Regions from separate parts of the Homo sapiens genome. Here region 1 is linked to region 2. The links are contacts of gene promoters, found by promoter capture Hi-C in blood cells and fetal thymus (Javierre and others, 2016). All regions are on one chromosome and are shown on one strand. Each heading gives the region's core, a stretch centred on a gene start or on the middle of the fragment in contact. The rest is flanking DNA. Distances are from core to core; before and after follow the strand shown.

The links. The method cuts DNA at HindIII sites, captures the fragments that hold promoters and counts their contacts. A CHiCAGO score of 5 or more calls a contact.
Region 1: a contact is called between a fragment that was not itself captured here and the fragment with the promoter of SF3B2 in region 2, in 1 of 17 cell types (naive B cells). The highest score is 5.1, in naive B cells.

The regions. Positions count from the first base shown.
Region 1 is chr11:66,164,315-66,171,081 of GRCh38, forward strand. The region is part of intron 1 of PACS1 (phosphofurin acidic cluster sorting protein 1); the gene reads left to right. Among named protein-coding and RNA genes, the nearest start is that of KLC2, 90 kb to the right of the region's middle. The HindIII fragment of the contact is 4,476 bases long and covers 2,343-6,767 here.
Region 2 is chr11:66,050,391-66,057,452 of GRCh38, forward strand. SF3B2 (splicing factor 3b subunit 2) reads left to right here and starts at 1,974. Exons shown (of 22, transcript NM_006842.3): 1 at 1,974-2,127; 2 at 2,283-2,329; 3 at 2,637-2,714; 4 at 4,686-4,925; 5 at 5,145-5,195; 6 at 6,448-6,565; 7 at 6,876-6,985. The coding sequence starts at 1,995. It overlaps SNORD13F (small nucleolar RNA, C/D box 13F), which reads left to right and starts at 2,754; the gene lies at 2,754-2,838. RefSeq lists enhancers at 972-1,523, 1,342-1,391, 2,012-2,181 and a silencer at 1,592-1,801. The HindIII fragment of the contact is 3,706 bases long and covers 1,621-5,326 here.

The sequences.
Region 1 (6,767 bases), core at 3,331-5,830, 120 kb after region 2:
GATTTCAAAAATAGCACAGTGACCCTGGGGTAATGATATGGTAGGACATAATTGAACCTTTCTGGGCACTTGTGTGCTATGTCATTTGTCCTGTATGTAGTTCTAGAGTGACATCAGATCTATTAAAAAAAAAATTTTTTTCATTTGTGAGTATAGTCCCAGCTACTGGGGAGGCTGAGGCAGGAGGATCCTTTAAGCCCAGGAGTTCAAATCCAGCCTGGGCAACATAGTGAGATCACTGTCTCTTAATACATATATATATTTTATATATGTATTATATAATATATAATACATATATATATGTATTTTTTTTTTGTAAAGACGAAGTCTCATTATGTTGCCCAGGCTGGTCTTGAACTCCTGAGCTCAAGTGATCCTCCTGCCTCAGCCTCCCAAAGTGCAGGAATTACAGGTGTGAGCCACCGCACCTGGCCTTCTAAAATTTTTTTTAAATAACAGTTTTAAAACATTGTTTATAGTTTGTTGACATTACATTCAGGTCCCCCTTCACATCTCTTCCCTATATTCTCAGGTGAAACTTCACTTCTCTCTTAACAGGGAATCCTCAGAACCACAAGAGATCTTAGAGAACATGTGGTCCCAACATCTTAACAAGCTGTGCTAGAAATTGAGTTGGTGGCCTTACTGCTGGCCAGTGTGGAGACCAAGCTGCAGGTACAGGTTCCTTCTGCTGTACAGCATGCCCTTTATTGCAGCTTGAAATCTTGTCCTCTGTCCTCACTTTCATCTGCAACTGATTGTCTTCCTAAGAAGGAAAGATCCTTTAGTCAAATGTTTTTCCTGCTCCACTGAAATGTCTACTATTGTAGTCACCAGTATTCTTCATTCTGCCAGATCCGGTGATGAGTTTTCTGTTCTCAGCTTATTCCACTCTTCGGCAGCATCTGACACATCTTCTGGACCACTTTCTTCTCTAAGTTGTGAAGGCGTGTCCTTCCGGTTTTCCTCCCTCATCGGCAGCTCCTCAGTTTCCTTTGCTGAACTTTTCTCCTCTGCCAGACTTCTAAGCCTTGGAATACCCAGGGTCCCATTCTTGGCCTATTCTCTTTTCTACCTGAACTCTCCTCTGGAAGATCTTAGCCAATCCCATTGCTTTAAATACCATCTCTATGCCTCGACTCCTAAATCTGTCTCTCTAGGCTGATCTTTCCGTTGAGATCAAAACTCATAAGCAGCTGGCCTAATAGTAATTCAGTTTTCTACTCAGATATTTAAGATGTGTCAAACTTGCATGTCCTGACTTTTCTGCCCTATTTACCCCAAAACTTCTCCCAGTCTCCTTTGTCTGATTAAACAGCACCACCATCCATCCACCCTGTTGCTCAAGCCAAAAGCCCAGAAACATATTGGAGTTTTTCTATTTGCCCCATACCCTGTGGGTATTTATATATATATGTATTAAGGGTAAAATATATATATGTATTAAGAGACAGTGATCTCACTATGTTGCCCAGGCTGGATTTGAACTCCTGGGCTTAAAGGATCCTCCTGCTTCAGTTCATCATCAGCAAGACCCGTCAGTTCTATCAGTGTTCCTGAGTTCCACACTTAAATCCAGCTTTACTACTGCTTCAGAACAAACTTCTTCCTGCCTTTCCTGGGCCACGCCACAGCCTCCTAACTGGTTTTCCTGTTTCCACTCTCCCCTTTCTTTGTCCATTATTCACCTAGCAGCAGGGCGATCTTGCACAAATCATTTTCTATCACCCCTTTGTTTATAATTCTTCAGTGGCTTTCCATCATAAACAAAATAAAGGTCCCTACTGCATAGTCCAGGCTCCGTTTGCCTCTGACCTCACATCTTTTTGTTTGTTTGTTTGTTTTGTTTTTGAGACAGAGTCTTACTCTGTCACCCAGGCTGCAGTGCAATGGCATGGTCTCGGCTCACTGCAACCTCTGCCTCCCGGGTTCAAGCAATTCTCATGCCTCAGCCTCCCGAGTAGCTGGGACTACAGGTGCCCGCCACTACACCCAGCTAATTTTTGTATTTTTTGTAGAGATGGGGTTTCACCATGTTGGCCAGGCTCTCTCGAACTCCTGACCTCAGGTGATCCACCTGCCTTGGCCTCCCAAGGTGCTGGGATCACAGGCGTGAGCCACCATGCACAGCCTGATGTCACATCTTACAGCTGTCGTCATTTGCCATGCACTAGACATCCTTGCCTTGTTTCCTTCAAATATCCCAGCCTCACTTTATTTAGGTTTCATCTTCTTTTTTAAAGTTTTACTCTATATGTATTTCCCTGCACAATTAATCGTTTATTTTTGCTTGGTTTTGAATTTGATATAGTACAATATTATAGGTAGTCTTCTGCAGCTTAAGCTTAGTTCATTCACTTTCATTGCTGGATCGCTTTTGATTGTGTGAATTTACAGGTTTGTCTACTCCTCTGACAGTGTACACTTGGGTTCTGATGAGAACAGTGCAAATATTGTCTAGTATATAAGGAACTTATAATGGGCCAGGCAGTGTTCTCAGTGCTTTTATATATATGGGCACTAAGAGCAACCCTATGAGTTGGTATTATTACGATGCTCATTTTTCAGATGAGGGAGCAGAGACATAGGAAGATGAGTAACTTACCCTTGTCATCTGGTAATGAGTGAAATTGCTGGATCATGGACTTCACATATGTTTAGCCTCAAAAGATGATGCCTAATAGTTTCTGAAGTGATTGTACCAGTTGATACTCCCACCAGCAGCATATGAGTTCCCATCGTGCCGCATCTTCACACACACCTAGTTTTGCCAAATTTGTGGGTGTAAAATGGTATTTTGATTTCAATTTGCATTTCCCCGATTCCTAATGATTTGAGCATATTTTTGTATATTTATTATCCATTAGTGTTTCCTCTTCCGGAAACATGGAGCGTCTGTTCATGTCTTTTGCCCACTTTTCCATTGATTTGTCAGTCTTTTTCTTACTGACTTATAGTTCTTTCCCTTTGTCAGTATTAGGAGTTTCAGTCTTCTCTGGGTTCATGGCTTTGGCTTGTCTTTTTTTTTTTTTTTTTTGTTGAGACAGGGTCTTACTCTGTGATCCAGGCTGGAGTGCAGTCATAGCTCACTGCAACCTCGAACTTGAACTCCCGGCCTCAACTGATCCTCCCACCTCTGCCTCCCAAAGTACTGGAATTACAGGCATGAGCTACCACAGCTGCCTTTGGCTTGTCCTTTGAGTCTCTTTTTGGTGTCTCTTGATGAATAGAAATTCCTAATTTTAATATAGTTGGATTTCTCATTGTTTTCAATGTCTTATTTTTAGAAATCTACTCTTACCTCAGAGTCATAAAAATATTGTCCAATATTCTAAAATTTTGCCTTTCACATATAAGTATTTAAGCTACATGAAGACTATTTTTATGTATGGTGTGAGGTGTGGATCCAACTTTCCTTTTTTGCATTTCATAGTTTATTTTTTTTCCCAGTTATTGAAATACTGCCTTTTTCTTATATTGTTTCTGCATGATTGTGGGATTATTTCTGGGCACTCTATTCTGTTTCATTGATCTTTTTGTTGTTCCTTCACTAATACCATAGTGCTTCAACTACTGTTTCTTTACAGTAAATCTAGATACCTGATAGCCTAATTTCCCCACCTTGTTTCTTTTCTTCAGGAGTGTCTTACAGTGGTGTGATCATGGCTCATTGCAACCTCAACTTCCCAGACTCAAGCAGTCTTCCCACCTCAGCATCCCAAGTAACTGGATGCCACCACCATGCCTGGCTACTTTTTAAAAATTTTTTGTAGAGATGGGGTCTCGCCATGTTGCCCAGGCTGATCTTGAACTCTGGGCTTAACTGATCTGCCCACCCTGGCCTCCCAAAGTGTTGGGATGACAGGCATGAGCCACCATGCCTGGCCTGCTCCTCCTTATAAATTTTAGAATTAGCATCTGTGGAAAATCCTGTTGGAATTTTGATCGGTGTTGTATTAATTTTTTATATCAATTTGGAGGAGAATCAACGTATCAATGCTAGAGTGTCTCTTGTGCATGAACATGGCATCTCTTTTGTCTTACAATGACATTTGTATACGTACAGTATAACTTACAACTCCATGCAGGTCTTGCACATCTTATGGAGCGAGACAGTGTAGAGACAGCGTAGAGTAGTGGTTTTAAGAGCAAAGGCTTCGGAACCAGGCTGCCTGGTTTCAGTCCTCACTTAGCTGCTTACGGTGTCATCTTGGGTTTCAATCCTGTTGGTTTCAATCCTCACCTAGCTGCTTACAATGTCATCTTGGGCAAGTCAGCCTCTCTGTGCCTCATTTTCCTCATCTGTAAAATAGGCGCTAATATTTCTACTTCATAGGGGCATATAGTAAATGCTCAGTTGTTGGTAGCTGTTGCTATTATTTTGTTTTATCCCTAGGTGTCTTATTTTTTGTTGCTTCCTAAATAGTATATATATATATGTGTGTGTGTGTGTGTGTGTGTGTGTATACATTTACACACATTTACATTTTTTAATTTTACATTTTTAAATTCTTTGTTGCTGGTGTTTAGAAATGCATTTGAGTTTCAGAAATCTAGCAACCTGGTTAATCTCTCATTAATCCTAATAATGAGAATTCTTCTGGATTTCCCAAATGGGCTATCATAAATCAACCTGCAGATAATGGCTTTTGTTTCTTCCATTTCAAACTTCATATTTTTATGTCTTTTTTGTTCTTTTACTGAGCTGGTCTTTTTTTGCTTTTAGCTGAACAGCCTTCTCAAATAGCTAGTCTTGACAACAGTATAACCTTGAATAAAAGTGGGACTGGTGAACACCTTGTCTTATTCCTAGTTTTTAAGAGAACATTCTAATGTTTCACTATTAAAGTGTTTGCTGTAGATTTCTGATGTGTATCTTTTATGTCAAGGAATGTATTCTATTCCAAGTTTGCTAAGAGGACTTATCATAAATGGATGTTGAGTTTTACCAAATGCTTGATATAAATCTGTTGAAATGATAATATATTTTGTCCTTTAATCTGTTAATGATGAAGATTACAGGCATTGGTTTTCTAATGTTAAAGCATCTTTACATTCCTGAAATAAATCTAAATCTAACTGGTTCATTACTTTTTTTTTTTGGAGACAGAGTCTCACCCTGCCACCCAGGCTGGAATGCAGTGGCTCAATCTTGGCTCGCTGCAACCTCTGCCTCCCAGGTTCAAGCGATTCTCCTACCTCAGCCTCCTGAGTAGCTGGGATTACAGGTGTGTGCCACCACGCCCGGCTAATTTTTTTTTTTTTTTTTTGTATCTTTAGTAGAGATGGGGTTTCATTCACCATGTTGGCCAGGCTGGTCTCGAACTCCTGACCTTGTGATCCACCTGCCTTGGCCTCCCAAAGTGCTGGGATTACAGGTGTGAGTCACTGTGCCCGGCTATTTTTTAAATACATTATTTGTTTTGCTAATATTTTGTTTTAAAATTTTTCATTACTGATCATAAAAGAGATTGGCTAATTATTTTTCTTTCTTGGGTACTGAGGTTATGTTAATTTTATGAAATGAATTGGAAAGTGTTTCCTCCTTTTGATCCTCTGGAAGAATGTATATAAGATTAAAATGATATTTTCTTTGAACGTTTGGTAGAATTTGCCTGTGAAGATAATCTGGACTTGGTGTTCTCATTTTCAGAAGAGTTTAAACTACTGACCACTGTCTTTAATAGTTGTAGAAACTTTCAGGTATTCTCTAGCTTCCTTAATAATTTCTGTTAAATTATATGTTTCTAGAAATCTACCTTTTTCATCTAAGTTTCCAGCTTTACTTGCATAAAGTGGTTTGTGGCATAGTGTAGTCTTATGAATCTTCGCTTAATCTGGAGTATGCTCCTTGAAAAACAATTCTAGGTTTCTAGATTTTATTAGCCTCTTAAGACTAATATATATATGCTTTCTATTCTGTGAAATTTGCTTTTATCCTGCTTTCTTTTAGATTTTTAGGCTTATTTGGCTGTCCCTTTATTTTTTACTTCTTAATGGCTGCTTAATTCATTAATTTCAGCATTTCTTCTTTTCTCATATAACTACTTAAAGCTGTTGTTTCCTTTAAAAAATAATAAAATAAAGTTTCCCCTAATACCTGCTTTAATGGCATAGCAAAGTTTTGATACGTCATATTTTAGTGTTTGGTTCTGAATATTGTCTGATTTATATTATAACTTCTTCTTTGACCCATGAGTTCTTTACAGGGTTGTTTTTATACTTTCAAATGCATTATCTTTAAAGTTATCTTCTTATTACTGATTTCTAATTTAATTGCATTTTAATGAGAAAAAGTAGTTCTCATATTACTGATTCTTTGAAATTTATTGGTAAAGGCTGGGTGGGCATGGTAACTCATGCCTGTAATCCTGGCACTTTGGGAGGCTGAGGCAGGTGGATAGCTTGAGTCAAAGAGTTCGAGACCAGCCTGGGCAACATGATGAAACCTCATCTCTGGAAAAAAAAAAAAAAAAAAATTTGCAGGGTGTGGTGGCATGCACGTTAGTCCTAGCTACTTGGGAGGCAGAGATTGCAGTGAGCCGAGATTGTGCTACTGCACTCCAGCCTGGTTGACAGAAAAAAACCCTGTCTCAAAAAAAAAAAAAAAAGGAAATTTGTTGGTAACTTACTTTATACCTAAATACAAGATCAGTTTTTGAAAACATTCTATGTATGTTTGAAAAGATTGTGTATTCTCTTGTTGTGGGGTTCCGGATTTCATGTGTTCGTTTGAATATTGGTAATGTTAGCATTTTTTTCTGTTT
Region 2 (7,062 bases), core at 724-3,223:
CTGAGGCGGGCGGATCACGAGGTCAGGAGATCGAGACCATCCTGGCTAACGCGGTGAAACCCCGTCTCTACTAAAAAAAATACAAATAAATTAGCTGGGCGTGGTGGCGGGCGCCTGTAGTCGCAGCTACTCGGGAGGCTGAGGCAGGAGAATGGCGTGAACCCAGGAGGCGGAGCTTGCAGTGAGCGCAGATAGAGCCACTGCACTCCAGCCTGGGCAACTGAGACTCTGTCTCAAAAAAAAAAAAAAATAAATAAATAAATAAAAAATAAATAAATAAAATGAGACTCCATCAGCCTTTAGTTTATCCTGCCTCAGAGACCCCGCCCCCTTCCCTAGCACCTACACATGCCTTGGGGCCCTCAGCCTCAGATGACCTGCCCTGGGCTCTCCAGTTACAGGGAGCAGAAGAGCCTTCCTTTGGGCTAGAAAGGTTCTGCCTGAGTGGGCTGACAAGCTGGAGGGAAGGGCGCTGTTTTTCTGTCTTCGTTACTGTCCTTTCCGGGTTTGGCTTCTCCTCTGGGAGTGTGGCTGCAGGAGCCTCCCATAGTGATATTGATGGAAAGGGGAAAGGTCAAGGTTTGGGTAGGAGGAAGAGGACTTCCCACCCAGTGCTAGGATGTGAGCCAACCTTTCTCAACCCAGTCCTTTTCCCTGTCTCTCCCAAACCTCACCTTCCCCCGACCTGGTGCCCCATTCTTTTTTTTTCCCTGTTCCCAGCTTCTTCTCCACTGGGGGCAGTTGGCAAAATGGAGCTGGAGAAAAGATCTGAAGGGGATGTGTAGGGGGAAAATGAGACCATTTCACTTGAGTCTCCCCACTCCCTTTCTCAACACACATAAAAAACACACACAGGCTAGCTGTTGGTGAGAGGGCAGAGCTAGTGGCAGAGGTGGGGAGAGAAACTGAATTGATGGTGTGGGACAGGGAGAGGTGGATGCTAGGCAGGCAAGAATCCCTGCCAGTCTCTGCCTCTGTCTCCAAAGGCCAAGGGGAGTTGGGGTGGGGAGTGGGAGGCAAGGTGGGGCCCCCAGTGCAGGTGCGGCTGAGGGAAAAGGGCCTGAGTTTATTTTTGAGACTAAAAAAGACACAAATGCTTTCACCAGAAACATTGTTCCTTTTTTTCCAGTAATCATTTATTGGGCGCCTCTTGAACGCCAGGCGATGCGAGACTGAAAATGATCAAGTCCCTGCTCACATTTTTGGGATAGAGGTAGGAAGAAAGGGCAAGAAAGACTTAACAAACGGTGGAGATTCGAACGTATTATGGGAGCTCTAAGAAAGGAAAGGAAAGCGGGAGGAGGCTTAGTGGAGAAGACGACATTTGAGCCGGCCTGGAAGGTGGAAAAGGGGGCTTTAGAGTCGCCCTTCCCCCAGGTCGGCAGCTGGAGCTCAGCCCGGGCAGGCCTGCTGCTCTCCCGGCTTGGATCCCCTTTCAGCCCATTCATCCGGGCCTGGGCCGGGGGTGGGCGGGCAGACAATCAGACACTGTTTTATCCCAGGCATCGGCTCCAGCCTCCCGCTTGGCGCCCGCAACGCGGGGCCGCCGGGGAAATGAGTCTCTCGGGACTCCCTGGGAGCGTAAGCGTTCGAGGATCTGACCGGAGGGCCGGGCCGGAAAGCTTGAGAGCCTTCGCTCCCGCAGGTGAGGCGCAGAAAACACTCCCTCGGGGAAGTGCCAGCCCTCCTCGCAGCCCCGCCCTCCGGCCCGCCGCCGGCCTTCGGGGCCGTAGCGGCGCGCAGGGCCCGCAGAGACCGAGACCTGCGCACTACAACTCCCAGGAGGCCTCGCGACCAGACCGCCGAGGGGCCACTAGAGAAAGGTGCGTCTGCGGCGAATCCCGTCGCCCAGCGCACGGCAGCGGGTGTGCCTGAGTGCGCGTCGCCTCCCAACCAGAGAGGACGTGGCATACGGCGCCACCGGAAGTTCCGGCAAGTGGGCCCTGAGGCTGGCCCCAGCTTCCGGGTTGGTCGCGCGCCTTCCTGCGGCTAAGATGGCGACGGAGCATCCCGAGCCTCCCAAAGCAGAATTGCAGCTGCCGCCGCCGCCACCTCCAGGCCACTATGGCGCCTGGGCTGCCCAGGAGCTTCAGGCCAAGTTGGCAGAGATCGGAGCTCCGATCCAGGGTGAGGAACACAGGAAGTCGAGGGGCCTTTACGGGCCTGCGGAGAAGCGGAGCCTGGTTACCCGGGAGACTCGGGTGCGAGGGGCGGAGGCAGGCCGCTGGGGCCTGACCTGGCCGGGCTGGCCTGCCCCATTGATCGTGTACTTTGCCCTGCAGGTAATCGCGAGGAGCTGGTGGAGCGGCTGCAGAGCTACACCCGCCAGGTAGGTGTTGGCGGCGGGACGTCAGGATAGGCCGAGCTTCTCCAGGAGACCTTATATACCCCATCACGGCTCGGTCTTCATTCTTTCTTTATCTCGGCACAGCAAGGCGGAGGCTTGCCCTTTTTAGCTTGTTCTTGCCTTTGCCAGCTTAGTTGTAATTTCTTGTATCCATCTTGGTCCTCTTCAGTGCCCAGCCAGAGCGCTGGCAGACAGGCACTGGGTACGTTTTGTTGAATGAATTGGGAGCGAACGTCGTTTAGTGAAACAGCTAGTTTTGGACTGACCTAGAGTCCTTTCTCTTTTGCAGACTGGCATCGTGCTGAATCGGCCGGTTTTGAGAGGGGAAGATGGGGACAAAGCCGCTCCACCTCCCATGTCGGCACAGGTAGGGAGATTCTTCTGTTTTTTAAGATTCCATCTGCTGATCCTTTTGTAGTTCATGAGCATGATGATTGGGTGTTCACGTGCATGTGTGAGATGTGACACCCTTGCACATTACTCGCCTGACCTGAGTGGGGAAAAAAAAAGATTCCATATGTTCAGGGTAGCCCTTCCTCTCACTTGCAGTTGTTGGGCAGGGAGGTACTGCCATGACAGAATTGTGAGCTCTTCAGTTCTCTCTTTGATGCTGACACTTGCCTCCTTTTCCACTGTCTGCTTCTCCAAAAGCAGCTTGTGGCCGGGTGCAGTGGCGCATGCCTGTAATCCCACCACTTCGGGATGCTTAGATGGGACGATCGCTTGAAGCCAGGAGTTCGAGACCAGCCTGGGCAACATAGTGAGACTCTGTTACTACAAAAAATTTTAAAAATTAGCTGGGCACGGTGGCACGCGCCTATAAAGTCCCTATAAAGAGGCTCAAGGATTGCTGGAGCCCTGGGGTTGGAGGCTGCAGTGAGCTCTGGTTGCGCCACTGTACTCCATGTACTCCATCCTGGGTGACAGAATGAGACTTTGCTTCTTTAAAAAAAAAAGGGGGGAGGTGATGGGGGAGGGGCTGGGAGAGTGTCAGAAAAAATAGCTAATGCATGCCAGGCTTAATACTTAGGCAGTGGGTTGATAGGTGCAGCAAACCACCATAGCACACATTTACCTATGTAACAAACCTGCGCATACTGCACATGTACCCGAAAACTTACAATAAAATAAAATTAAACCAAAAAATAGGAAAAAAAAAAAAGAGGCAGGGCGTGGTGGCTCATGTCTGTAATCCCAGCACTTTGAGAGGCCAAGGCAGGTGGATCGCCTGCGGTCAGGAGTTTGAAACTAGCCTGGCCAACATGGCGAAACTCTCTCTACTAAAAATACAAAAATTAGCTGGGCGTGGTAGCACATGTCTGTAATCCCAGCTACTTGGGAGGCTGAGGCAGGAGAATCACTTGAACCCTGGAGGTGGACGGTGCAGTGAGCCAAGATCAAGCCCCTGCACTCCAGCCTGGGCAATAGAGCGAGACTGTCTCAAAAAAAAAAAAAAGAGGCAGGGCATGGTGGCTCATGCCTGTAATCCCAGCACTTTGGGAGGCTGAGGTGGGCGATCACTTGAGGTCACGAGTTCAAGACCAACCTGGCCAACATGGTGAAACCTTGTCTCTACTAAAAATATAAAAATTAGCCGGGCATGGTGGCAGGTGCCTGTAATCCCAGCTACTTGGGAGGCTGAGGCACGAGAATTGCTTGAACCTGGAAAGCGGAGGTTGCAGTGAGCTGAGATTGCGCCATTGCACTCCAGCCTGGGTGACAGAGCGAGACTCTTGTCTCAAAAAAAAAAAAAAAATACAGCTTGAATACAAGGAAGACTGACTTGTCCTTACCCAGCTGGAAGCAATCACCCTTTTCTTTGCCTGCCCCAGGCACAGTTCCCATGTTCTTTTGTGTGACATCGAGGGCTCCCTGATTTGATTTCACACCCCTTGCGTTTAGTAGTCATTGGGGTTTGCATTGCCCAGATACAGTGGTTCCTGTTTATGTAAGTCCTCTCAATTTCCATGTTCCTTCTGATCCAGGATTTGCCTCATTTTCTCTAAAGCAGTGGCTCTGACCTGGCATCTACTGATCTCTGTGTGTAGGATGAGGAGTCCCTAGATGGCCTCAGAGGCGTCTTTGAGTCTCCTAGAATTGTATGCAGAATCTATATTCAGGATATCTTTTTGGAGAGAGTGGATAGCTTCCTTTGGTTGGTGCCAGAAGTTAACATTCTCATATCTTTATAGAGCTGTGGAGCATTCTCTCTTATGGAGTGGTAACTATGTATCATTTGACTTAGAATTCCAGCTCCTGACTCAAAGTAGATCCCCCAGATATTTGCAGAATGAGTAGATAAATGCTTCCTAGTTTTATGATCATATTTTCTCCACAGCTCCCTGGAATTCCCATGCCACCACCACCTTTGGGACTCCCCCCTCTGCAGCCTCCTCCGCCACCCCCACCACCTCCACCAGGCCTTGGCCTTGGCTTTCCTATGGCCCACCCACCAAATTTGGGGCCCCCGCCTCCTCTCCGTGTGGGTGAGCCAGTGGCACTGTCAGAGGAGGAGCGGCTGAAGTTGGCTCAGCAGCAGGCGGCATTGCTGATGCAGCAGGAGGAGCGTGCCAAGCAGGTAGGGCAGGTGGCAGCCCTGGCCTTGGACTCATTAGGTCCCTGAAGGGGCAGTGGAGCCTTAGAGAAAGCTGGGTCCTAGAACTAAGGCTTCTGGGAAGGTCGGGACTAAAGATTGGAACATGGGCCCTTGACTGGAAGAGGATCTCAAGAAGCAAGAGTTGTGGCAGATTGGCGTGTTGGGTATTGGTGCTGGTATGAACTTGTTTTCTTTTTTAAGCAGGGAGATCATTCGCTGAAGGAACATGAGCTCTTGGAGCAGCAGAAGCGGGTAATACCCCTCCCCCTAACCTTTGACCTCGTGGTCCAGTCAGTTGGCTGTCATTTATAGTGCTTAGAGTGCACCATTCAAGTTTTCCCTGGAGGCTACTTTGTTCTCAACTAAGTTCTAGTATCTTCCAAAGCTTTCAATTTTTCTTGAAGTTCAGGAATTGACAAACTATGACCTGTGGCCTGCATGTGTATGGCCTATGAGCTAAAAATAACTTTAAAATTTTTTAAGGGTTATAAGAAAACCCAAACCAAAAATATGTACCAGAGTCTGTACAGCAACCCATAAAGCCTAAAATATTTACCTTCTGACCTATTATAAAAAGAGCCTGCTGACCTCTGCTCGCCTTACATGACATCATTCTAGATAGGACTCTGGGTAATTGAGTTATTTGTATTGGATTTAGACAGAATAGGACTGTAAGTCTGGGAATGTTATATAAGATGTTTGGCCCCAGAGGTGCATTGCATCAGTCATTACCCAGTGGGTTACTCAGGAGTATTAAAAAGTAAGTGTTAAAAAGCAACAAGTATGAGCTGGGTGCCGTGGCTCACACCTGTAATCCTAGCACTTTGGGAGGCTGAGGTGGGTGGATCGCTTGAGCTCAGGAGTTCGAGACCAGCCTGGCCAACATAATGAAACCCTGTCTCTCAGAAATACAAAAATTAGCCAGGTGTGGCGGCGCATGCCTGTAGTCCCAGCTACTTGGGAGGCTGAGGTGGGAGGATGGCTTGAGCTGGGGAGGCCGAGGTTGCAGTGAGCTGAGATCATGCCACTGTACTCCAGCCTAGGCAACAGAGCCAGACTCTGTCTCAAAAAAAAAAAAAAAAAAAAAAGCCACAAGTCTGGACCTGTGGGTAAAGTACTGTCTTTGCCCAGATTGTGCTGGATCTTGAGGGGTGGATATAAGAAAAGAGCTCAAAAGTTTCTTCTGTATAATTTAATCTTTTGGGGAAGAAAACTCTCTGAAAAGTAGAAGGCACTGTTTGGCTCAATATGAAATTCTCTGCTAGGAACCAGAAGTTTCCTGGGGTTTTCCTTGGTGTTATTTCTAGGGATTTTCCGTTGTGATGAGAGGGCTCCTCCGTTTGGATTAGTAGCCTGGAAGTGTGGGGGTGGAGGGGATGTCAGCACCCAAGTGGTTCGTGATTGTTCTCCTTGGGCCCATTACCCGGCTGAAAGAATGCATTTGCCAGGGGCTGCCTGCCAAATGCGTTTTCAGGCAGTATCTACTCCCACTTCCCTCCCGTAGGCAGCTGTGTTACTGGAGCAGGAACGACAGCAGGAGATTGCCAAGATGGGCACCCCAGTCCCTCGGCCCCCACAAGACATGGGCCAGATTGGTGTGCGCACTCCTCTGGGTCCTCGAGGTGAGACCCTGGAACCGAGGGGAAGGGCAAGGAAGGTGATTTAGACATTTTTAAAAAGACTTTTAAGGTATCTATCACATTTAAAAAGGGCATATATAGTAAATATATAGTTTAATGGTTTTTTACACACTGAACACACCTGTACAACCAGCACCTGGACCATGATCCAAAACATTACCAGCATTCCAAAAGCCACGCCACGTGCCCTCCTCCCCTGCAGGTTTACCATCACCCTTTCAGCAAGAGAGGTAATTTTTTACGTGAGTGTTTTGCCTCTTCTGACATTGGATTTCTTTTTCCCGTCTCTTAGTAGCTGCTCCAGTGGGCCCAGTGGGCCCCACTCCTACAGTTTTGCCCATGGGAGCCCCTGTTCCCCGGCCTCGTGGTCCCCCACCGCCCCCTGGAGATGAGAACAGAGAGGTGAGACTGATGATTTATTCCTAGGGATAAGAGAGTGGTAGTTTAGGATGGGACTATTTTTGGATTTTTAGAGAAAG